4 separate regions of the Homo sapiens genome follow, and regions 2, 3 and 4 are each linked to region 1. The links are contacts of gene promoters, found by promoter capture Hi-C in blood cells and fetal thymus (Javierre and others, 2016). All regions are on one chromosome and are shown on one strand. Each heading gives the region's core, a stretch centred on a gene start or on the middle of the fragment in contact. The rest is flanking DNA. Distances are from core to core; before and after follow the strand shown.

Region 1 (5,929 bases), core at 1,975-4,474:
TAGAAAATATGCTATTAAAAAAAATTCTGGCAGCAGGAAGGAGGATGAATTGGAAGGCAGCAAGAGTGGAGGCAAGAAGACCAGCTGAGGAGCTAAAGCAGTACTTCCAATGAAAGACAATGAAGTCTGAACCAAGGCAGTGAGCTTTTTCAAAAAAATCAAACTACAGAAGAAATAATGATGAAATTTAAATTTTCCACTTATGACCCTCAGGCTCTTTCCAGAAGCAACCACCATTATCATTTTTCTTTCGTGTCTTTCCAGTGCACTTAACTACTTTTGAATTGGATTCTGAATTGATTTGGATGTAATTGATTTTGCAGTGTCATGTTTAATGAAGGGTTAAACTTGGTCTCTATCCATATAAAAATAAGACTCATTCAATCTAATTTATACAATAGGGACCTACTGATAGATCTTGAGGTACCCTAGTGGATTTCCAAGCTGTTTGTTGCCATAGCAATCCCTGCTCTATGTGCCTTCAGTTTCTGTCTTGACCCACTTTGGTTTAGATGCATTTCTAGCAGAGGGGACAGTAGGCATGCTCCCATTTCTAAGCCCCTTGGGGACTGCATTGGTAGCCAGATTGTCCCTTCTCCCTCTTCCTCAATTGTAGATCCTGGAAGGCTTCCTAAATGGAAGAGTTATGGACCCAAAGTCTGAGACTTTGGAGAAATGGTCTAACTTAGACCTCAGGCGTACTACCCACTTAATTAATGTAACCTCAAAGTACCTAACTTCCATACTAGGAGCACATTCTGGAATCCCAGCCAGGCCTGCTTTGGTTCCTATTTCTACTACTCAGGTGGACACCCAAATCCACACCCTGTTCACACAGGAGAAAATACTTGTGTGACCAGGGTAGCTTTTAATATGCTACTTCATATTACAACTGTTGACTTGTATTAGCAGGAAGACAGACCAAAAACAAGAAACAGCCTTCCTACTTGTAAGTTGAACAGCCTTTGCCCTGGACCGTCCTCCCTAGTGGCTCTGGAAAGAGGAAACAAGGCAGAGGAGGTGGGACAGCTCCACCAAATGGCTTCCTGGGTGTCCTTCACAAACTTTTTTATTTTTATTAAGGGGTTAGTAGAGCTGCCTCTAAACTAACAATGGAAGAAACCACCCTGGAAGGGAATTTTTGGAGGAAGAATTTCTGCTGAGTAGGTTCGTCTCAGCATAAATGTTCGCACGCAACAGAAGAGAAGTTAATGATCACTGACTTTCCTTGAACTTCAAAGCCCTATGTTATTTACTTTCATATTTATTATTTAATCATCACACAACTATATTTAAGTAGGTATCGTTGCAGGTGAGTTCCATTTGCCAAAGATTACAGATCTGGAACAGAGTCGTACTCAAAGCTACAACGTGCCTGACTCCTGGGTTTATGCTCTTCATCGCAACCTTCCCGTGAGAAAAGTTCCTCTATGTGTGAGGACAGAGACGGTGGAAAGGACAGAGATTTTGAAAGGACATCTGGAAAACTTGTATGACTCAGGGGATGGCCACATCTCTCTTAAGGTCCATCTGAAGGCACCCTCCTCTGGGACACGTTCATTTCTCAGAAGAAAGCGTATACTTCAAAAACTCTTACTGTTTGGAGTGCTCATTTGGTACTTCCTGATTACCGATTTGTATTGCTAGTGCTTCTTTCCCGCTTATTTGAAGTCCCCAATTAAATCTATAAACTAAGCCACACATGAGAATGAATTACTGGACAGGCAGCCAAAAAAAAACTGTGTTCTAGTCTTGTCTCTGGCACCTGTGTGAAACCTAAGTTTCTTTTCAACTTTAGTTCTACGGTACTCCCTGCCTGTGTCACAGTGGGTGCATAGTAAACACCTGATGTGATTAGTTGGGCTCAATATTTTGTCAGCAGAGGCTTGGGTGTTCCTAAGGGTAACCGCAACAAGGTTTTCCCTGGGTGCAGTTATGTTCTGGGCAGCCGTAAGTTTAGGGCCTTGCTGCCTCCTGTAGGGCAGATGTGCAAGTTGGGGCCTAATCGTCGCAACAGTGGAGAAAAGGGGAAGGGAAGATATCCCAGCCATTAAGGGACATCGTGACAGATGTTTCTTTTAGACTTCACAAAGACCCTTCGGGACATGGATTATTGATATCATTTTTACTGAAGACGGAACCAAAATTTAGGTTAAACACTTATACCTGGCATCCCCTACCCGGGCCCTAAGTGCTCTCCAAAGACCCCACCTCTGGGCTTATTTACATCGCGAACCCGCCCTCGTTCAGCAACACGAGGGCCCCGCCCGCTCATTTGCATAGGGCGCGCCCAGTCACGGGCCGGGTCCTCGGGCTTCTCCCGAACCCCTTTTCTCTCTCAGGCGCGTCCTCCGCGCTGCGCGGGGCCTCCCCGTGGGATGAGCACGTGTCCGCTGCCGGCCTCACGACGGACGGTGGACGAGGCGGCAGGCCCCTACAGGCCCCACCCACGACGCTGGCGAGGGATCGGGCGGTCACCGGGAATCGTCTTAATGCGCGGCAAGGCGCGGGCCTCTCCCTCTCCGCCCGTGAGCCCCGGTGGGAGCGCGCCGGCGCCCAACTCAAGCGAAACCGCGGGCGTCCCGCCCCGCCCGGCCGCGCCCCGCCTCGCCTCACGCTAGACTGGGGAGGCGGGACCAATCAGCGAGCGACGTCTCCCTTCCGATTCGAGGCCCCCGATGCGCGGCTCACACCCCGAGCTTCCCTCGTGCTGATTGGCTGCGGGCGCCGCCGGTCCGGCCGGGAGGCGGGGCGGGCCGTAGGCAAAGGGAGGTGGGGAGGCGGTGGCCGGCGACTCCCCGCGCCCCGCTCGCCCCCCGGCCCTTCCCGCGGTGCTCGGCCTCGTTCCTTTCCTCCTCCGCTCCCTCCGTCTTCCATACCCGCCCCGCGCGGCTTTCGGCCGGCGTGCCTCGCGCCCTAACGGGCGGCTGGAGGCGCCAATCAGCGGGCGGCAGGGTGCCAGCCCCGGGGCTGCGCCGGCGAATCGGCGGGGCCCGCGGCCCAGGGTGGCAGGCGGGTCTACCCGCGCGGCCGCGGCGGCGGAGAAGCAGCTCGCCAGCCAGCAGCCCGCCAGCCGCCGGGAGGTGGGTGCGTGGCGCCGCGGCGGCCGGCGGCCGAGGGCGGAGGGCGGAAGCGGAGGTGGGCTGGCGGGGGAGGGCGCGGCCGTGCGGGCGGCCGGTAGGGCTGCGGGCGCGCGCCTGAGGGGAGGAGGGGCAGCGCGGGCGCGCGCGTCCTCACCCCCTCCTTCCCCGCGGGCGGCGGCCAGGCTCCCTCCCCTCCCCTTCCCTCTCCTCCCCTCCCCTCCCCTCTCTTCCCCTACCCTCCCGCGCGCCCGGGCCGCCGGCCGGGCCCGGGCCTGGGGGCGGGGCGGGAAGACGGCGGCCGGGAGTGTTTTCAGTTCCGCCTCCAATCGCCCATTCCCCTCTTCCCCTCCCAGCCCCCTCCATCCCATCGGAAGAGGAAGGAACAAAAGGTCCCGGACCCCCCGGATCTGACGGGGCGGGACCTGGCGCCACCTTGCAGGTAAAGCCTGGGCGCCCGCGGGCCTCCAGCTAGGGAAGTGTTTGCGTGCGTCCGCGGCCGGGGCGATGGGCCGTGTCACATGGCCGCTGCGGGTGGGGGCTGGGGTGTGGTGAGTTCGGGGGCTGTGGGTGCGCCGGCCCGGGCGTGCGGGTTCGGGGCCGGAGAGCCGGGAAGGGACGGGGCTCGGTTGCACTGCGCTGCCGCCCAGGCTGACGGGGGCGGGGGCTGCCTGCGTCCCTTCCCCTCGCTGCTCTCACACTCCATAGTTTGTGGTTCTGATTTTTAAAGCCGAAGGGCCAGAGCTCTTGTTTCAGGAGTTGTGGGGAAGCCTTGTTAGGGACGCGTAATACTTTGCCTCCACTTTTTTTTTTTGGTCTCGTAACCTTTGTTAACAGTGGTAGTCTCGGGTTTTCCATGGCTTGTGTGTACTCACAAACACGCACACAGCTGATAACTCTGTGATCATCCTTCACTCACTTGTGAAAGTTGTTCTGCGGGTGGAGCCTATTAGTTTTTATCACACGCCTTTGGAAAGCCCTCGAAGTGATTTCTCGTATTTCAAACTTGGTTTTTAAAATTGCAACTTACTTTGTTCTCTTGGAGGGGGATATTGTCTTTGGGTCAGGTACTTTTGTCTTTTACTTATCCTTAAAATGTCCTTTTGATCCTAAACAGAAAAAGAATGCCTGGGTTGGTTTTGTTATTCCTTTCTCTTGACCCTTTAAAAGCAAAATACCACCAGTGTGTTGTCAACCATACCTTTAAAAAAGAAATTTCCAGGTAAAACGAATTTGCAAGCAGCATTTTCCATCAAAGTCATGTCTTGTTTGTTGCAATTTGGACTATCTTAAATTTGGGTTTGTGAAACTTTTAAAACGACATGTGTAAAATAATTGTTAATAAATAAATAACTTGGAATAATTACATCTTTTTAGAAATGGTCTTTGAAATGTGATTTAATTTCCAAAATTCTTTTTCTCTCTTCTGACTTCATATGAATTGAACCTGATAGTTTCGTATGAATGAATCGCTGATAGGATGTTTTCCTTGAGCCTAGTAATAAATTTGCTCTTATTATGCTGAAAATTTGCTATTCTACTTTAACACCCTTTAAAAAGTTTCCATCTTACAGAGAAGTTAGTCAAATAGTTAAATGGAGTTTCAACAGTTTTAATACATGAATTAGTGAAGCAGATGAAGCAGAGATGGGAGAAGTAATTTAAAATGGGCTTCATAAATGTACCATAGTTTGAGGGTATTTAAAAAATTTGCCTTCGGAAAACCCATACAAGATATTTAAAGAATTTCCTCTGCCAGAAGGTCATTTAGCAAACGTTTATATTAAATTCAAAAGTAATACTTTTATTTTTAAAGTTCCTTAGCCGTTGCCGTAAACTTAGCTGTCGTAGTAAATATAAATAGTTCACATCTTTCGGCATTTCTAAAGAGTGTGCCCACTTTTACTATAAATATTAAACTCTGCTGGATTTAATTGAGTTCAAGGCTGTTCACTGGCCAGGTTTAATTAATGTAATGTGATTGGAAACGTTCATTTTGGGGTTTTAGTAAGAAATTGCTCTTAGAGCTTGGTTTTTATACTTAGCCACACCTTCTAAAGTGCGGCCACAAGCATTGTAGGTGTTCAACAAAAGTTTGGGTTTTCAAGGTTGTAACCTACGTTTACTTAGTCATAAGTGGTCATGTCTCTACACAGTCTGTAAGTTTCATGAAATAATAGTCTTTTAAGAAACTGTGCAGGGTAATTTCCTGTTGTTTGTGTCTTATCAGGCTTGGTATGTGTTTTAACTCTTGTGTAGGAATATTGGGGATGGTTTTGGTATTTCAACAGAACTTTAGTAGGAACAAAGGTTGTTTCTATTCTACTTCAAGATGGCCAGAGGTTGTTGTCCCCTTTTCATTTTCACATTGTAAATATTAGAATCATGTTGCTATAATCTTTACTTCACATTTGGGGGAATATATGTCAATGGAAAAACTCGGTTTAGCTGTGTAAACCGCTGGCCAAAGACCTATTGAATTTTTACATTTTGCAAATACTGTCAGTTTTAAAAGTCTTTCCTTGTTCTTGTTTGGTTTTGATTCTGTTGGTTTTGTGCTTTAGGGCTCCAAAAACCTCGTTTTGTAGCAGCTTTTTTATACAGGTGTTTTTGTAATGCATATAAAAGCTGTATTTAGTGCAGTCTGGCAGATGGAGATTTATTCATATTCTTAGGACAAAGAGTCATTTTTAGAGGGTAGAGGGGGGCATGTCTTTTAGATTCTTAGTCTTTTGATGGGTGTAGAAGAGCCATTTTTAGGCCCTTAGTTTCTGTGAGAGGTAAGATGTTTTCCCCTAAGTATTCCAAAGGTATGTCAGAAAATGTGAAACGTAAGGAATTCACAACCA
Region 2 (5,842 bases), core at 1,056-3,555, 2.4 Mb before region 1:
TTTGGAAAACAGTCTGGCAGTTTCTTCAGTCAGTAAAACATACCATATGACCCAGCAATTCCACCCCTAGTTGTATACTTAAGAGAAATGAAAATGTGTGCACCAAGAACTTGTATATGAATGTTCATAGCTGCAAAATCCATAACAGTCATTATGTGGAAACAACCTAAATGTCTATCAGCTGATGTATGAATAAACAAAACATGCTATGTTCATACAATGGAATATTGTTTGGCCATAGTAAGAAATGGTACCAATACATGCTACAATGTGAATGAACCTTAAAAACATGCTAAGTGAAAGAAGTCAGTCACAGAAAACCACATATAATATGATTCTATTGATATGAAATATCCAGAATAGGCAAATATACAGAGATAGAAAGATTAGTGGTTGCCTATGGGGAGGGGCTTGGGGAGTGGTATCTAAATGGTGCAGTTTCTTTTGGAGGTAGTGAAAGAGTTCTAAAAAATGACTGGGAGGCCAGGTGCATGGCTCAGGCCTGTAATCCCAGCACTTTTGAAGGCTGAGGCAGGAGGATTGCTCGAGCCAAGGAGATCAAGATCAGCCTAGGCAACATAGCGAGACCCCATCTCTATAAAAAAAATTAATTAAAGGAAAAAGATGATCAGGGCAGTAAATACACAAGTCTGTGATTATACTAAAACCATTGAAATGTAAACTTTTAATGGGTAAATTGCATAGTATTTGGATTATATCTGAATAAAGCTGTTTTTAGAAAAATACTCGATGCCTTTCACTAGCGTTCGGAAAGATTTATTTAAATGCATAAAGATTGGTTAATAGAAAAAAGTGGGTTTTGAAAGAAGGAACCCCTTTTTTTTAAGGAAAGGGGTGTGATAGGATTTGAAAGATGAGGAAAGCTAATGAGGGCCCCTAATTCCCCCACCCCACATCTCTCATAGGCCAGATTTAAAATATACAAATTCCATACCTGGAGAATTATCATTGGGATCGTGAACACTTTTACTCTCCCCTAGACTCCCAGGATAGTTGTCCCCTTGCTATGTGTAGTGTGTGACATGGAAAAGGGGATTGGCCCAGGCAGGAGACAGTGCCTGAATAGGTGGTTAACCAGCCATGTGTTCCTGGGTTCCTGCTGCTCTAAGTGACTCTTGAGATTTTCCTGAGCCTGCTTGATTTGATTGTAATTGAATTGTGAGAACTTGCTGTGTAGAGTTGGTCCTGCAGGCTTGGAAATGGGAACAGCAGGTACCTTCAAGGACAGAAACAGTGAAGGAGGCCTGGGGAATGCTGCGTGCTGCAGATTATTGATGGGCCTTCCACAGTACTCCAGACGAAGGCAACTTAAACTGTTGGTCAAGCACCTCTATTCTGTTGTTCCTTCAAACCAACCCCGAGAAGCCACATTAAAAACCCCCTTTGCACATAGACAATTACAGAGATGGTAATGAAACCAATTCTGTGTTCACAGCACTGCAGGAAACACAACTGTGGATTCAATTCACCTTGTGTGGTTTACTCTTCAAGAGATGCTTAGTTCTTACCTTCAGGGAGTTTATAATTTCATTGAGGAAACAACTTGCTCATATATGAAACCATTGCAGATTAACAAAATTACAGGAGTGTTCTGGTGTCTGTAACGGCAACTTTTGGAAGAGAACACAGGGATAATCAAGAAAAAAAATTATCATGAACACAGACCAGTACCAAAGGGTTTTATAATGCTCCATTTTGTGTATGACAAACCTCAGATTTGCTCTGTCTTCTGTAGGACCAAGGACATCATGATCTGGGGCTAAAAAACACAAACTGGAAGCTTCTGCAGGCTATAAAATTCAAGGTGATATTTACAGATGAGCTTTGCGATGGATAGAAACTGACCTATTCAGGATAGAAATTGGTTCGTAGGAGTTGGGTAGGAATAAAAAGTAGAAGAATCTACCACCAAACCAGAGAAGCAAGCCTATTTAATTCTTTTTGGTTTTTTCAGAGGGCGTAAGTGGGAAAGGAAGAAGTCAGATTAGAAAACTGGTGCACTTGTTCCTCTCTAGGAACCTGAGTGTGATAAGAAATGTGGGCCAGGTGCGGTGGCTCACACCTGTAATGCCAGCACTTTGGGAGGCTAAGGTGGACAGATCACCTGAGGTCAGGAGTTCGAGACTAGCCTGGCCAACATGGTGAAACCCCATCTCCACTAAAAATATACAAATTAGCTGGGTGTGGTGGTGGGCACCTCTAATCCCAGCTACTCAGGAGGCTGAGGCAGGAGAATCACTTGAACCTGGGAGGCGGAGGTTGTAGTGAGCTGAGATTGCATCACTGCACTCCAGCCTGGGTGACAAAAGTGAGACTCTATCTAGAAAAAAAAAAAGAAATGTGGCTGTTAGGGACGGGGAAGCTGTAGTAGGGAGGGAGCAGATTAGAATTAAAGCTACTAAACAAGTCCTCCTCATCAATGATATTAAATGACTGGTTCATGACATTTGGCAGTCTTTAAACATTTCAGAGACATCAGCTTGAAAGTATAATATATGAGGAAAAAGGATATTTGTGTCAGGTGTCCTAAGACCATCCTCAGGTTCAATGACTCACTAGAAGAACACACAGAATACAAAAACACTGCTAAGCTCCCAATTAGTTTGTTACAGCAAAAGAATACAGATTGAATGAGCAAAAAGGCTCATAGGCTATAGTACAGGAAAGACCATGCTTCCAGTTCTCCTCTCCTAGAGGAGTCATATAAACAGCACTTAATTATCCCAGAAACAGTGTTGTGATAACATGAATGAAGTATTGCAAACCAGGGAAGCTCATCCAAGCTTTGGTGTCCAGGGTTTTTATTAGGGGATTGGTTACATGAGTATGGAGGGTGCCATTGCTGACCTTGGTTACTCAGTCTCCGGCCTCTCCAGAGTTCATATTGATACCCTGTGGCCCAAGGTCCCCACCACAAATCACATTGCTATCATAAACTATCTGGTGTGGACCAAGATCCTAGGTAAATATAAACATTCTTTTTTTCTTTTTGAGACAGAGTCTTGCTCTGTCATCCAGGCTGGAGTGCAATGGCGTGATCTGGGCTCACTGCAGCCTCCACCTCCTGAGTTCAAGCAATTCTCCTGCCTCAACCTCCTGAGTAAGTGGGATTACAGGCACCCGCCACCACACCTGGCTAATTTTTGTATTTTTAGTAGAGACAGGGTTTACCCATCTTGGCCAGGCTGGTCTTGAACTCCTGACCTCAGGTGATCCACCCACCTTGGCCTACCAAAGTGCTGGGATTACAGATGTGAGCCACTGTGCCCAGCTGAACATTCTTATTAGGCAAGTAATTCTGAGCACTTTAAGGTTATCTCCCAAGAGCCAGTCAAATATCAGATTTTTTTTTCATGTGAAGGTTTGAACAACCAAGGCCTGCTGAGTTAATCTTTTACCGCATGGCACTATTTGGAGAGTTCCCATTCTGGACCTAATTCATATTATTCTCTCAGATGTCTTTCTAGGAGGATGTTAATTTTGCCCATTTTTATAGATGAGAAAAAGTTCTCAGAAAGATTAACTACACTCTGCAATGTAAAGCAGCTAGTATTAGTAGAGCCTAGAATCAAACTCAAGCTGTAACACTTTGTTCTTGAAGGCATGAACTGTAAAATATACCTCTAAAAACTATGACTTAAGATATTGCAATAGCCACAGAATATTTCAGTGTCATTGAAAACATAAGATAGATATTGAATCCCTTGGTCTTATTTTTCTGGCATGTTTCAGCAAATTCTGCCTGAATTTGTGCCTGAATGGACATTAACCTCATGAGAGACCTACAATAGTTCCTTTGCATTCAGAGTCTGAGTTCTTTCCAGACTAGGGATGCTGCATAGAATGGCCTGGGCTCTAAATATATCCCTCCCACTGGCTGCTGTTTTTGCTGATTCTCAAGTCCACTCTCCCCTGGGCCAAAGTGGTTGTCAGTACCACCGTCACCCATCCTGGCTCCTCCCTGCTCCTTATTCAATTCACCTGCACTTGAATGACTTCTAGGCTTGGTTCCTGCTCTCAGCCCCTGTGTCCATTTGGAGAGTGAGTACCTGCTTTGATTCTTGCCCAAGGTCCAGTCTTGACCCAGTCCCTGCCTCCCGCAATCACAAAATGCCAGAAAGATTAGAGGGCCACAGTCTGTTTTTCATACTGTTTTAGACCATTGTGATATGGCTTAGTCACTTCCCAGTTCTAACTCAATGGGACCTAGCCCTCTGCTACACCCCTCTGCTCTCTCCCCACCCCAGCCCTGCCCTACCTAATCCACACTGAGTCTAGGCATCTGTAGATACCTTAAGCCCTGATTTTTTTTTAGCCAATTTTGAGTTCATTTGAATATTATATCAATGTCAGTAAATGAATTTAATAGTCATTATAATAGAATGATTTTCAGACTGGTCCAAAAAACAGAATTCAACTAAACTGAACAGGTGGATATGCTGGGCAAAGGGATAATTTACATCCCAGGTGGGATGGAATGGCACGGTGTGAGATTTCATCACAATACTCAGAATGGCATGGTAATTAAAACTTATGAATTGTTTATTTCTGGAATTTTCTTTCTTTTTTTTTCTTTTTTGAGACAGGATCTTGCTCTGTCATCTGGACTGGAGTTCAGTGATGCAGTCATGGCTCACTGCAGTCTGGACAGCCCGAGCTCAAGCAATCCTCCTGCCTCAGCCTCCTGCATAGCTGGGACCACAGGCACGTGCCACCATGCCCGGCTAATTTTTTTTTTTTTTTTTTTTTTTTGAGACAGAGTCTCACTCTGTCACCCAGGCTGGAGTGATCTCGGCTCACTGCAAGCTCCGCCTCCTGGGTTCATGCCATTCTCCTGCCTCAGCCTCCTGAGTAGCTGGGACTACAGGCACCTGCCACCACGCCTGGCTACTTTTTTGTATTTTTTAGTAGGGACGGGGTTTCACCGTGTTAGCCAGGATGGTCTCAATCTCCTGACCTCGTGATCTGCCCGCCTCAGCCTCCCAAAGTGCTGGGATTACAGGCGTGAGCCACTGCACCCGGCCTAAGTGTTTATAATTTGTAGAAACGAGGTCTTGCTATGTTGCCCAGGTTGGTTTCAAACTCCTGGGCTCAAGGAACCCTCCCTCCTCGGCCTCCCAAAGTGCTGGGATTACAGGCATGAATCTCTGTGCCCAGCCCTCTTGAATTCTTTACTTAATATTTTCAGACCATGGTTGATCATGGGTAACTAAAACTTCAGAAAGCAAGACTGTGTATATTCCTCAGCGAATGATTCCAGTACTGATTTTGTCTGTGCTTGCTGGCAAATTAGAATTGAAGTGCTAAGCATGGTTTTGTCATTGAATTTCGGATATTTATGTCATCCTTGCTGTTTGCAAGAAGTGTCTGGAAGACTTCCGTCCCCCTCCCAGGAATCTTTGGTAGAGTTGAGCTCTCCTTTCCCTTTCCTGTGATCCCCACCTTGTGCTGAGATCCTGTACTTAGTTTCTCATTCTGTGTTGTTTGTTCTCCTGCCTAAGAACCTAATCCTGATTCCTGGTGTCTGATCCCCTGGACTTCTGATCCATTTCCTGAACTCAGGTCCACTGTGACCCTTAGCTTTCAGAATCTGCTCCATTCTGTGCTTGCCTCATGAACTTTTTTATCTAGCTTCTCTCGTCCTGGGGCTTCCCTGAGTCTATTCCCTGATTCCAGCCCACAGCCCAACACTCACAGTAGGAAGATTTTACTATTAATATCAGATCCATTATTACTGGCTGTGTGACCTGGCAAGGGACTTAGGCTCCCTGAGTCTCAATTGCTTTCACTGCAGAGTGGGGACAATAAGGCTCCTGCTCCA
Region 3 (5,579 bases), core at 1,271-3,770, 2.3 Mb before region 1:
CGAGTGGACACCAGGCACAGCTGTCCTGACTTCTCCCGTATTGGTGCCTGGCTGCCCTAGCAAGGTGGGGGCAGTGATGGATGTTCTGTTGGTGCCGTAGCGGAGTGGTCTGTAAGCAGAGTGATGATGAGCCATGATGGTTCTCTTGAGCAGAGCAATAGATGTGCTGATTGCGACGTTTCTGCAGAATTACCCCGCCTGTCTAACAGACACCCTACCTCCCACAGGCAACTAGCTTTGCCCGCTTTGCTATCCAGCTAACAGAAAAACGGAGGTCAGTGAGGAATGGGAATGGGAAAGCTTTGTAGGCAGAGAGATGGACTTTCTGTGTTGAAATGTGATGGAAGTAGGATTTGTCAGCACAGTGAGGGGTTGGCTGATAGAGACTTTCCTCAGGTGAACTCTGCCCTTCTAATGGTTGCCTGTTTCCTACTTCTCCCAGGCAGTAGACCCAGGCCTGCCTTCTGTGAAGCAAGAGCCACCTGACCCAGAGGAGGACAAGGAGGAGAACAAGGATGATTCTGCCTCCAAATTGGCCCCAGAGGAAGAGGCAGGAGGGGCTGGCACACCCGTGGTCAGTGCTGGGGATGCCCCACCCTGCCCTGACCCTGCTGTAGCCCCAACAACCACATTGACCTATGGTGTTAATTCTTCTCTAGATCACGGAGATTTTCAGCCTGGGTGGAACCCGCTTCCGAGATACAGCAGTCTGGTTGCCAAGGTGTGCCCCACACAGTGAGGGGTGGGGAAGGAGTGGGTGTTGGCCAGATGTGGGCCCTGAGTTTTGAAAGTATAGCCGGCAGTTTGGCATGGTGTGGTGGGAGGTAAAGGCCCATACCCACTATGCTGGTCACAATTAATGAGGGGCGTGTGTGTAGGACCCTAGAGATTTCTCCTGAGATCCAGCCCAATAGCATTCCAGGTTAGGACTCTCCTTTGGGGGTAGGGGAAAGACTTGGTACTCTATCATGAGATTTGAAAGAAAAAGATAGGGAGTCTGGTCCCTATTTTCCTAAGGAATTTCTATAGGGGTCAGCTTTAATATATAAATTCTTATTCAGAGAATAATCATTTGGGTCTTGAAGGCCTTTAGAGTCTCCAGGAGACCTCTGGGTGGGCTGTTGCCTGACATTGAGCAATGTGTACCAGAGAAATGGTGCTGGGCTTGCCTGGGCAGTGGTATGGGCAGGAGATCTGGGTTCCGAGCTGGCTTTGTGAGCTGGGTTCACACGTAGTTGTGTGATCTCTGGTTGCCCTGCACTTCCTGGAGCGGCCTCTGTGGAAGGGCTTGGGCTGGATCTCTTGAGCCTTTCCTGAGCCTATTGAGGTTATTAACTTCAGATGCCTTGCAGAACTGTCCCTGTAGTCCTGGCATAGAACAAAGGGTAGATGCCTGTAAGGACTAGGGTGGTTGGGAGGACAGAGGAGTGCTGGCTCCTGCAGAATATTGACAGACCCTGCATAGAGCCCCAGACACTGGCGATGTAAACTATTGGCCTAAGCACTTGGATTCCTTTGCTCCTACAAACCAGCCCACCAGGCTAGAAACCCTTTCATCTATACTTGGCCAATTACAGAAGTATTGATTGAGTTCCTGTTGGGTGCACAGCATTGAGGACAATGAGCCCTGCAAAGCTTACCCTTCAGGAGACACAGGATACCTACCTTCAGGGAGCTTATAATCTGACTATGTACAAGCTGTCTATAATGGTAGTTTTTAGAAGATATAAAAAAAGATAAAGGATAATTAAGGGGAAGTGGATGGAGGACACAGAATAGTAGGAAATGGTTTTGTAATGCTCCATTGCGCACATAGCAAACCTCATTCAACATACAGACCTGCTCCCTTTTCCCTAGGTCCAAAGACCTTAAAAAACCTGGAGCTAGAAAGCAGTAGACTGGAGGCTTCTACAGACTGTAGGATTCAAGGTGATATTTGCAGACTGGCTTTATGAGAGACAACACTGATCTACTAGGGGCTGGACCCTAGATTGGTTGCCAGGGCTTGTGTGTGAATCAACCCTAGGAGGAAAAACCTACTACCAAACCAGAAGAGCAGGCCTAAGAGTACTTTGAGCTTCTAGAAGAAGTAAGCGGGAAAGGAAGAGAAAGAGTAGAAAGTTGGTGCATCTTCTCCTCCCCAAGAGCCTGAGTATAAGAAGTTGGATTTTAAGGGTGGGGGAGCTGGGTTGGAGAAAGGTAATATAATTAAAGCCACCACAAAACAACCTAAACAAGCCATGTTCATGAGTAATTGTAAGTGGCTTCTGGATGAGACCTGGCAGTGTCTCTACATACTTCCTCAGGGAGATAGCAATTGAAAATGTAATTGAATAAATAAGGAAAGGAACTGCTATTTGGTGTGTTCCTCTGTGGACCCAGTTTATTTAATCCTTAAAATAATATTTTTGGGAAGACATTGATTTTGTCCATTTATGTGGATGGGAAAACTGAGACTCATTAATTTGTCCAATGTCGAACAGCTGGTGTTAGTAGAGCCTAGACTCAAACCCAGCTTTTAAAGCCCTTGTTCTTTACTCCACTAAACTGTAACCTGTAATCCTGTATGCACTAACAGGAGTTTTCGGTGACCTTGAAAACACAGATTACTATAATTACTATAATAAATCCCTTACATTCCTGTCTCTAGCATGGTTTAGGGAGTGCCAAGGCTCAATGTAGATGGGGTCACCTTGTCAGAGCATCTGTTCATACAGAAACTGGGTTTCCTGCAGACCCCAGGTGCTGCATAGGATTCCTCAAACCCTACAGGATATATCTCCCCACTGGCTGCTGTCCATTTTGCTTGTTACCCTGACTCCCCCTCTTCAGCCAGAGCAGTCTTTGTAACTAAAGCTGCCAGCCTGGCTCATCTTTCCTGACAACGTGCATCTCCTGCCCTGTGATCACCTTTGTGCTTGGCTCCTGCCCTCAGCCTGAATGTGTTCTAGGAGGCTGAATTCCTGCTTCGAGTCCTGCCCAAGAGCCAGTCTTGGCTCAGCCCTACCTCACTCTCTCCCAATTCTTCATTCATAAAGTGCCAAAAAGATTAGACCTGTAATTTGTTAGCCAGCTTTACAGGGCCAGGACTGAGTGAGTGCCTCCTTAAACTTTGTATCCTGTGTGCCTCCCTTGCCTTACCCTAGTCCCAGCCCTGCAGCTTTAAGTAATTCAGACATGGATTAGCCATTTCCCAGTTCTGTCTCATACAGTCCAGCCTCTGCCACCTTCCCCACCCCTTCCTTTATTCCATCCTAACTAGTTCAGCCCTAGTCAAGACTGGATAGACTGATACTGCTTTGTTTCCCCCAGGAACCAACCACCCAACCCCAGTATTCTGGTAATTTTGACAATGATCTATATGAAATTTATTTGATTGACATTTAGACTCATGAGTTAAGCTTCTGCTGACCATTTATGTTAGGGTACAATCAGAGGAGCAGAACCACTAAGATAAAGATTATGTATATATGTATTTTAAGGGATTTATTATAGGGATCTGACCGCATGCCATTGTGGGAGCTGGTTAAACAGTCTCTGTAAGGCTGTTGTCTTTGCATCTAATGCTGGAGCTTGAAGTCTGCAGGGCAGGCACTCGGGAAGGGAAGATGGATGTAAAGTGTGGGAGACCGAGGACACAGTGGAGCCCACGAGCACGAGCTGGAACCCACGAGGATGGCCTGGAACCCATGTCAGTCTCTCACCACCTCCAGCTTCGATGATGTGGGTGTCCTGCAGAAGAAGCTGGTGCCCTTCCTCACAGAGTTAAATATGCATCTGGCCCAGGAATTAGAGAAGCTGAAAGGATGATCCTGGGGAAGGTGGAGCAGCTGCAGGCCTGGCTGCAGGCCTGACTACTGCCCACACCAACGAGGTGATCTAGCAGATACATGGCAACGTGTGAACTGCAACAACGCCTGGTGCCCCAGCACCAACCTTCCAAGTGTAAAAACAATGTGCTGCTGCTTCACTTCCGCCCTCCGGTTATCAAGCAAAATGTCTCTTGTGGCCCATCTTACTGGAAGAGAGTTCCGGGAAACATAGCCTCACCAAGGTGACACATTACAAAGCCACCCTACCATGAATCCGCTCCCAAGGGTCTCACTGCTCACCTGAGGATAACTCAATATAACTATGTGGCTGAAAATGCAAAGCTGAAGACCATGGATTTCATGGTGATTCCAGCAAGTACAGAGATTCTATGAAGCCCACCCAGAAAAAACTTGCTGGTCCTGGCTATTTTTGTGTCATTTATTCAAGTATTGAGAACCTGGCCTGTGGTAGGCACTGTACTTAATACTAGGATACAGAAATGCAAAAGATACGGCCCATGCAATTTTATTAAATGCATCAATATGTATTACAAATGGTGAATGGATTTCCAACTTTATCATGGAATTTAATGCTGAATATATAGAATTCAGAAAATTGTTGGGAGGACAGCCCTTTTGTGAACCTTGTTTGGGGCACAGTAGGAATTGGAAATAATTTAGTTTCTATCTCTAAGCTGTTCTATTTTAAAATTATTTTTAAATTTTTATTGTCCCACTTACTTACATGCTTAGTGTTTCTTTTGGGAGTGGTTTGGTGGGAACAGTGTTGACTGCCTCTGAGAAACTGGGATAGTGGGTGGGAAGATCAAATCAAGGTCACTTCTTTCCAAGGACCCTGAGCGATTCACTTACCTAGGCCGCGGGGGCGGGGGGTTGGCTGAAGGCTGAGGCTCTTGGTGCTCAGCACTGGCCGGACACCTTCAACCTGCTGGTGGGTCCGCCAGGGGGCGCCGGGGCGAGAAAGCCCGTAGTTCCCAGCCACAGTCACCCACCGGGGCCCTGGAGGCACCGCTCGTCACCCATCACCCCTGGCCTGGCCGCCCTGGGGCGTGGTCTCCGTCCGGCGCAAACCCCAGTACTTGGGCTAGGGCCAGAGGGAAGCTGAGTCCCCCTCTTCAAATAGTGGTAAAACAGGCAAAACCGAACCGGGGTTAAATTTCGGAGCTCGCCCAGGGTGAGGGCGGGGCTCGACGACCTAGGACGTTCGAGTGCGGCCGGGTGTCGCCAAGGGTCGGTTTACCCCATCGCCTCAGAAATTCCGACGAGGCCCTTTGGGCTGCACAACCTTGGGAATCCCCAACGGGCGGCCCCGAATCTGCGCCGATTTTCCCAAGCCGTACTTCGGGCCCAAGGCGTTTTCATTGCCGCCTTCCCGGAGGATGTGTGGTGGGGGTGGTTCCGCCCGGACCGACGGGCGGGCCCGGAGCCCGTTGGACTCGAAGATCAAAGAACCGCCCCTCTGGACACTCCAGGAAACCGAGACGACCACCTAATTTGTTTGTTTTCTGTTTCAGGCCACGTAAACTCTTAGTAAATGCAAATGCGTATTTTACTGAACTGCAATTGAAAGAACCGTTATAGAAAAGAACACAAAATGACAGAATTATTAAAAGAGAAGAAAAACATTATTTCGTGGCTGAAAAGCTGAACCAGCAATTCAGGAAATGGAATTCGTATTTAGAAACATACCACATACAAAATCCGAAGTGGGTGGTTTACAAATGATTAAGGAATGCTAATTTACAG
Region 4 (5,759 bases), core at 110-2,609, 2.4 Mb before region 1:
TCACATGCTATACGGGTTTGTTGCCTAGGAGCAATAGGCTATATAGCCTAGATATGTAGTAGGCTATACCATCTAGGTTTGTGTACATTTACGTACATTCTATGATGTGATGTTTGCACAACGACAAAATCATGTAACGCTTTTGTCAGAACACATCTCCATCATTAAGGAACGCATGACTGTATCTCTATTTAGCTGTAGAACCATGGATGCCACATAACCTTCAAATCTCACCATTGGCCTATGTGTCTCAGAAAAACATAAGTAAATAATTCTAATGAATATTCAGTTCATTGTTCAATGTACCTTACATTTTTAGTATCCTCCACAATATTCAAAATGACATTGGACTATTTAAAAAATCGTTATGCAAAAATCTAAAATTACCTAAGATGCAGTCACTTAACCAAGCAAAGATATCATTCAGAGTGGAATAATCAAAATGCATTTTGTATATACAAAGTCAGTGGAATCTGTTTTACTTACCACAGTTTCTTAATGATAAGGTTTTCTTAATATTGCCAATCTTTTCATTAACATGAGAGCATAATTGTTCCAGATCTGACGAGGCCATCCTTTAAGCCTCTGAAGAAAAAAACATAAACATATTCGTAACAAGAAAAGCCACACAAATTTCTGTTCACTTTCGAAATCCAAGAATGGTCAATGTCAAGTAAATCACATGTCTTTGAAGGTTAAGCACAAAAATTCAAGAGCAATTTCTTTCATTTCTACAACATTCAGTTTCTAACCACGGTACCGTACTGACTTGTCTTAGAGCCTTAGGCCATCGATGGATCCCAAACCAGGGGAAAGAGGATAAGCCTGGGTCCTTTCCTTAAGGATTCAGGAGGACAAACGCACTATTTGTATATAAAGACAACATTGGTATTTTCTTTAAACACGCAAAATAAGGACACATTTTTTAAAAATGTGTTACACTGTCAAAGAAATGGGCCCAGGTAATCATTTTTCCTGTGCTGTGAGGGGTTGGGGCTTTACAGTTTGGGATCGGTAAGGAGGCCGAGAAATGGGAAAGAACCAGTTTCCCACCCACTCCGCCGGTGAGAGAGAAGGGGAGGGTCTAAAGCATCCAACCCAGCCTCCAGCCCCGTCCTCCCCCAAGCCCGGCGCGGTCCGCGGCCCCCAGCTGCCAAGCAGCTACCTCGGGCGCTTCCAAAGGCAGGGTCCCCAACACACAGACTCCAACCTCAAGTCCGTCCGGGAGCAAAAGGCTACTCGCCGCTGGGTCTCCAGCTGCGGATACCGCAGTCTCCGTTGGAAGCCCAGGATGGTGAGACGGGACTCTGTAAGCAAAATTCAAACCGCCCGCCGCGCCCTAGCGCAGCGCAGGCGCACATCCATGCTTCCGAAGCGCAGGCTCAGCCGCTGTTCCCGGTTTGCGTCATCCGGGGCCACAGCTGGGCGGGAAGGAGGGGTGGCCGAGCCGGGGAAAGGCGGGGCGACGGCGAAGGCGGGGCTTCCGGACGAAAGGGTAACCCGGAGGTGCTCTTTCCGCGCTAACCAGTCTGGGGAGATTTCAGCAGGTCATGCAGTCTTGACCGCAGCCCAGCCAGGGACCTGGCGTCACCAAGTCCTGGTCTTTGACATTTGCTGCACCTTAGAGTCACCAGGGGCAGCTATTACAAGTCTCAGTGCCTAGAGTACACCCCAAGTCGGTGAAATCAGACACTGGGGAAATGAGGCACAAGCCTTAGTATTTATAAAAACACCCCAGAAAATTCCAAAGAGCAGCTAAGTTTGTGTGGAAGAAACAGTGACCCTGTCTTCTGGGTCTTAGACAGCCTCTGTAAGTGTTCCCGGGCCAAACCAGGGGTTGGGCTGCTTATTCTCATGATGAACTGGGAAAGAAGAGTTTATTTCGGTAACCGGGTACAGGGAAAAGGCCTGGAAAATATCGCCAAATCGATTCAAAATTACAAAGTTTTCCAGAGCTTATATACCTTCTAAACTATCTGTCTACATGTAAGTGTGCATGTGTGTAAAGACGTAAATGATTAACTGTTTCTAATCTATAACTAAGATCAGTCCTAAGGAAGGTCTTTATTTAAGTAAATTTACTTAATCTAGATGGCTGCAGGTGCCAGAGGTGATTACCCTTATCTTGTCTCCTGCTAAATCATGAAGGTTTGGGCAGTTCCTTCAGACCCCCGATAAACTTGTTTGTGGAGGTCTGGGGGAGTTTCTTCAGACCCCCAATAAAAACTTGTTTAATCTTGAACAGGTCCTGTTAAGAATTCCTTCTTTATTTTCTCATGCTTCAAGGACCAGGAAAGGCCTGGGCAAAACTCTTGGTGGGCTTTTGTTACATACCAGCCTTTCTATAAAGACACTGGCTCTTTCAGCTTTTAATATTTAACTTAACTAGTGCTGAAACAGTGGTTACGGAGGCCTGTCTGTTCAGCTGTTAGTGAGACCTGGCCTGCCACTTAAGAGCAAATATAAATTTAAAATAAGAAAAACAAAAGTTTAATTCTCCCTGTTGAAAAGGAGGGAAAAGCACCCAAGGCTGGAGTGGTGGCACCGCCAGGTTCTGTCCATCCCTTGGCTCCACTGCGCTATTATTATGCACTTGGACCTTCAGGCTGCCAGCCCCTGTCCTCAGGTCTTTCTCCCAGGCAGCAGAAACGAGCAAGAGGCATGTGTAATAGGCTTAACTGCCAACAGAACCAGCACTTTGAGAGCGTTGTGCTGGAAGCCACACCCAGTGGCTTCCATCTGCTTCTCACTGGTCACTCCCATCTGCGAAGGAGACTGAAAAAAATCTTTTGTAAAAAATGTAATCTGGACAGTTACTTTCACTCATGTCCGTATGAAGAGACCACCAAACTGGCCTTTGTGTGAGCAACAAGGCTGTTTATTTCACCTGAGTGCAGGCGGGCTGAGTCCGAAAAGACAGTCAGCTAAGGGAGATAGGGGTGGGGTCGTTTTATAAGATTTGGGTAGGTAAAGGAAAATTACAGTCAAAGGGGGTTGTTCTCTGGCAGGCAGGGGTGGGGGTCACCAGGTGCTCAGTGGGGGAGCTTTTGAGCCAGGATGAGCCAGGAGAAGGAATTTCACAAGGTAATGTCATCAGTTAAGGCAGGAACAGGCCATTTTCACTTCTTTTGAGATTCTTCAGTTACTTCAGGCCATCTGGATGTATACGTGCAGGTCACAGGGGATATGATGACTTAGCTTGGGCTCAGAGGCCTGACAGTTACATTGCATCCTCGAGACTTAAGTTTAGCCTAAAGTTGCCTCCATACATATTTTAAGTTGTGCCTAAAGTTTTCTCTGTAAGTCGCAAACTATAACCTAAATGAAGGTGTAAACAGACTGTAATCTACTCTTGTGCCAGTCACTGAGTTATGGCCGATGAAAGGGGGCCAGCTGCTCAAACCGTGTTCAAATAAGGCAAACACTGACTGTAACCAATCCAGCTGTTGCTATACCTCACTTCCTTTTCTGTACATCACTTCCTTTTTCTGTCTATAAATCTTCCACCACATGGCTGTGCTGAAGTGTCTCTGAACCTACTCCGGCTGGGGAGGCTGCCCGATTGGTGGAATCATTCTTTGTTCAAGTAAACACTGTTAAATTTAATTAGGCTAAAGTTTTTCTTTTAACAGACTATAGGAGTTCTATTTGTAAGGGAGAATGAGAGCATAGATACTGGGTAGGGAAGGAGTTCAGAACACACCACCTCAAAACATGCCACTGTAGCATATTGATTCTTTTGAGTGAAAAGCACTTAAAAAGCAGCAGGTGCAAGAAGGGCACACTGGCCTTCCTTTTTCTTCCTGAAAGCAGAAGATGGAAGTCCCATGTGAGAGATGTCCTCACTACACCAAGAGGAAAGAAACATTCTTATCCCTAGACATGAGAAGTCAAAGACAAGAGACATCTGTACAAACAAAACTTGTTGTGCTTACCGGTATCTTCCTAGTCACTTCTCCATGATTCATTGCCCAAATCTAAGCCCCTTTTTCTTGTCATATTTTCACAATTTACTACTCTGTCCAATATGGTATATAAGCATTTAGCTCTAACTGAATCTTTGGGTCTTCATTTTTCTTGTGAGGATTCCCATGTACAAGTAAAAAAAATTATTAATATTGTATGCTTTTCTCTTGTTAATCTGTACTATTTCAGTTCTGGCCAGAGACCTTAGGAGGGTGGAAGAAAATTGTATCCGTCACTGTATAATTTCCTCATGTTATATCATCACATGAACAATTCTAGATTATTTATGAATTTCATATTTTTCATACCCAGCTGACTTTGAAAGAAAAGATTTTATTTTTATTTTTTGTATTTCTACTTTGTGCTTTTTCTTACAGCTAGGTGTCAAGGTTAACTTCTGGATGTCCCCAAGTCAGAATTAACTAAGAGCCTCATTGTAGAATTAGGATTGAGGATCTCTGTAAGCAACAGGATTGCATTTCTGGGCATTTTGGGAAACATTTATTCTAATGTTTTGACCAATGACAAGTGACCAGCTGGTCCAATAGGTTTTGGGGCAGCTTCATAGATCTCTGGTGCTGATAAGTCTTCATTCAGAAGAGGGAGGGCCCACTGAAATAGATGGGGTGCATTCTGAGATGCCTCACTGATCAGAATTGACCCAAGGCAGATTATATTTTTACATTTCCTATTAATCTACAGTCCTTTGGCTTGTTTTTAAGTCTTTTTCCAGCTGACATAATTAAAATCCATTGCATGTACTTGTAACACAGTACTCACTGGGATAATTTCTTAATTCTCACAAGCAGTCATAGCAGCTGAGACAAATCATTTCAGAAAATCAAACTCTTCCCTTTTTCAATGTCTCATGTCCTCAAATGATATGTAGTTCTTGTGGTGTTGGTTGATTTATTTGCTTTAAACCAGAGAAGAGAGGAAGAAGAAAAATGTCTTACAATTTTCCTGGTGTTCTTTCTTTACCATATTGAGTCTTTATCCAATATATACTTTTTTAGCATTGTAGTCAGAGCCCCAATTTCTGTGCCACCAGAGCTACCCCTAACAAAGGCCCAGTGCTCTGTAATATGAATAGAGGCAGGAAAGGAAAGTACTCAACATGCAAAACTTCTCGCTCCCTCTCTTTCTTTCTCAGTCTCTCTTTCTGATGTCGAAAATGACACCCATACATGAGACAAGGGAAGATGGAAAAAAAAGATGGAGACCTTCTCCTCAGTCATTAAATGGCTCTGTGAACTTGGAAAGTGGATGGTTTTTTGTTTTGTTTTGTTTTGTTTTGTTTTGTTTTTTTTCTGAGATGGAGTCTTGCTTCATCACCCAGGCTGGAGTGCAGTGGTGCAACCACGGCTTACTGCAACCTCTGCCTCCTAGTTTCAAGCAATTCTGCTGCCTCAGTCTCCTGAGTAGCTGGGATTACAGGCATGTGCCACCACACCCAGTGAATTTTTGTATTTTTAGTGGAAACGGGGTTTTGCCATGTTGGCCAGGCTGGTCTCAAACTCCTGACCTCAGGTCATCCACCCCCGTCAGCCTCTCAAACTGCTGGGATTACAGGCATGAGCTGCTGCCCCCAGCCCAAAAGTGGATGGTTTCTGAGATCACTTCCAGCTCAAAACACTAGGTTCTTTTTCTTGTGAAAAGTATTTCATTCTTCCTGTAGCCTGCTTAAAAAATATAAATATGTTGCTGTAGAAGAGATGGACTTCTAAGTTTAAAAGAATAGAGACTGCCTCACAGTTTTTCTTCCCCTACTTCTTAACAAGATGCACCCAAAA

The links. The method cuts DNA at HindIII sites, captures the fragments that hold promoters and counts their contacts. A CHiCAGO score of 5 or more calls a contact.
Region 2: a contact is called between a fragment that was not itself captured here and the fragment with the promoter of SMAD2 in region 1, in 1 of 17 cell types (neutrophils). The highest score is 7.8, in neutrophils.
Region 3: a contact is called between a fragment that was not itself captured here and the fragment with the promoter of SMAD2 in region 1, in 2 of 17 cell types (neutrophils and naive CD8 T cells). The highest score is 10.7, in neutrophils.
Region 4: the fragment with the promoter of SKA1 here is called in contact with the fragment with the promoter of SMAD2 in region 1 in 1 of 17 cell types (neutrophils); the score reaches 7.8 in neutrophils.

Annotation. Positions count from the first base shown.
Region 1 is chr18:47,927,954-47,933,882 of GRCh38, reverse strand. SMAD2 (SMAD family member 2) reads left to right here and starts at 3,224. Exons shown (of 11, transcript NM_005901.6): 1 at 3,224-3,522. It overlaps LOC124904297 (a long non-coding RNA gene), which reads left to right. Exons shown (of 2, transcript XR_007066360.1): 2 at 1-1,695. RefSeq lists silencers at 2,306-3,235, 3,266-3,795. The HindIII fragment of the contact is 8,478 bases long and covers 1-5,929 here.
Region 2 is chr18:50,290,782-50,296,623 of GRCh38, reverse strand. No RefSeq gene overlaps it. Among named protein-coding and RNA genes, the nearest start is that of CXXC1, 6.0 kb to the right of the region's middle. The HindIII fragment of the contact is 1,003 bases long and covers 1,804-2,806 here.
Region 3 is chr18:50,267,819-50,273,397 of GRCh38, reverse strand. It overlaps MBD1 (methyl-CpG binding domain protein 1), which reads left to right. Exons shown (of 17, transcript NM_015846.4): 13 at 1-64; 14 at 443-574; 15 at 660-721; 16 at 1,858-1,929; 17 at 3,580-4,552. The coding sequence ends at 1,897. Among named protein-coding and RNA genes, the nearest start is that of CFAP53, 4.1 kb to the right of the region's middle. RefSeq lists a silencer at 4,692-4,961 and an enhancer at 5,122-5,311. The HindIII fragment of the contact is 1,766 bases long and covers 1,638-3,403 here.
Region 4 is chr18:50,370,646-50,376,404 of GRCh38, reverse strand. It overlaps SKA1 (spindle and kinetochore associated complex subunit 1), which reads right to left and starts at 1,359. Exons shown (of 7, transcript NM_145060.4): 1 at 1,211-1,359; 2 at 487-585. The coding sequence starts at 574. LOC105372114 (a long non-coding RNA gene) reads left to right here and starts at 1,527. Exons shown (of 3, transcript XR_935466.3): 1 at 1,527-1,810. RefSeq lists a silencer at 2,572-2,866. The HindIII fragment of the contact is 8,258 bases long and covers 1-5,759 here.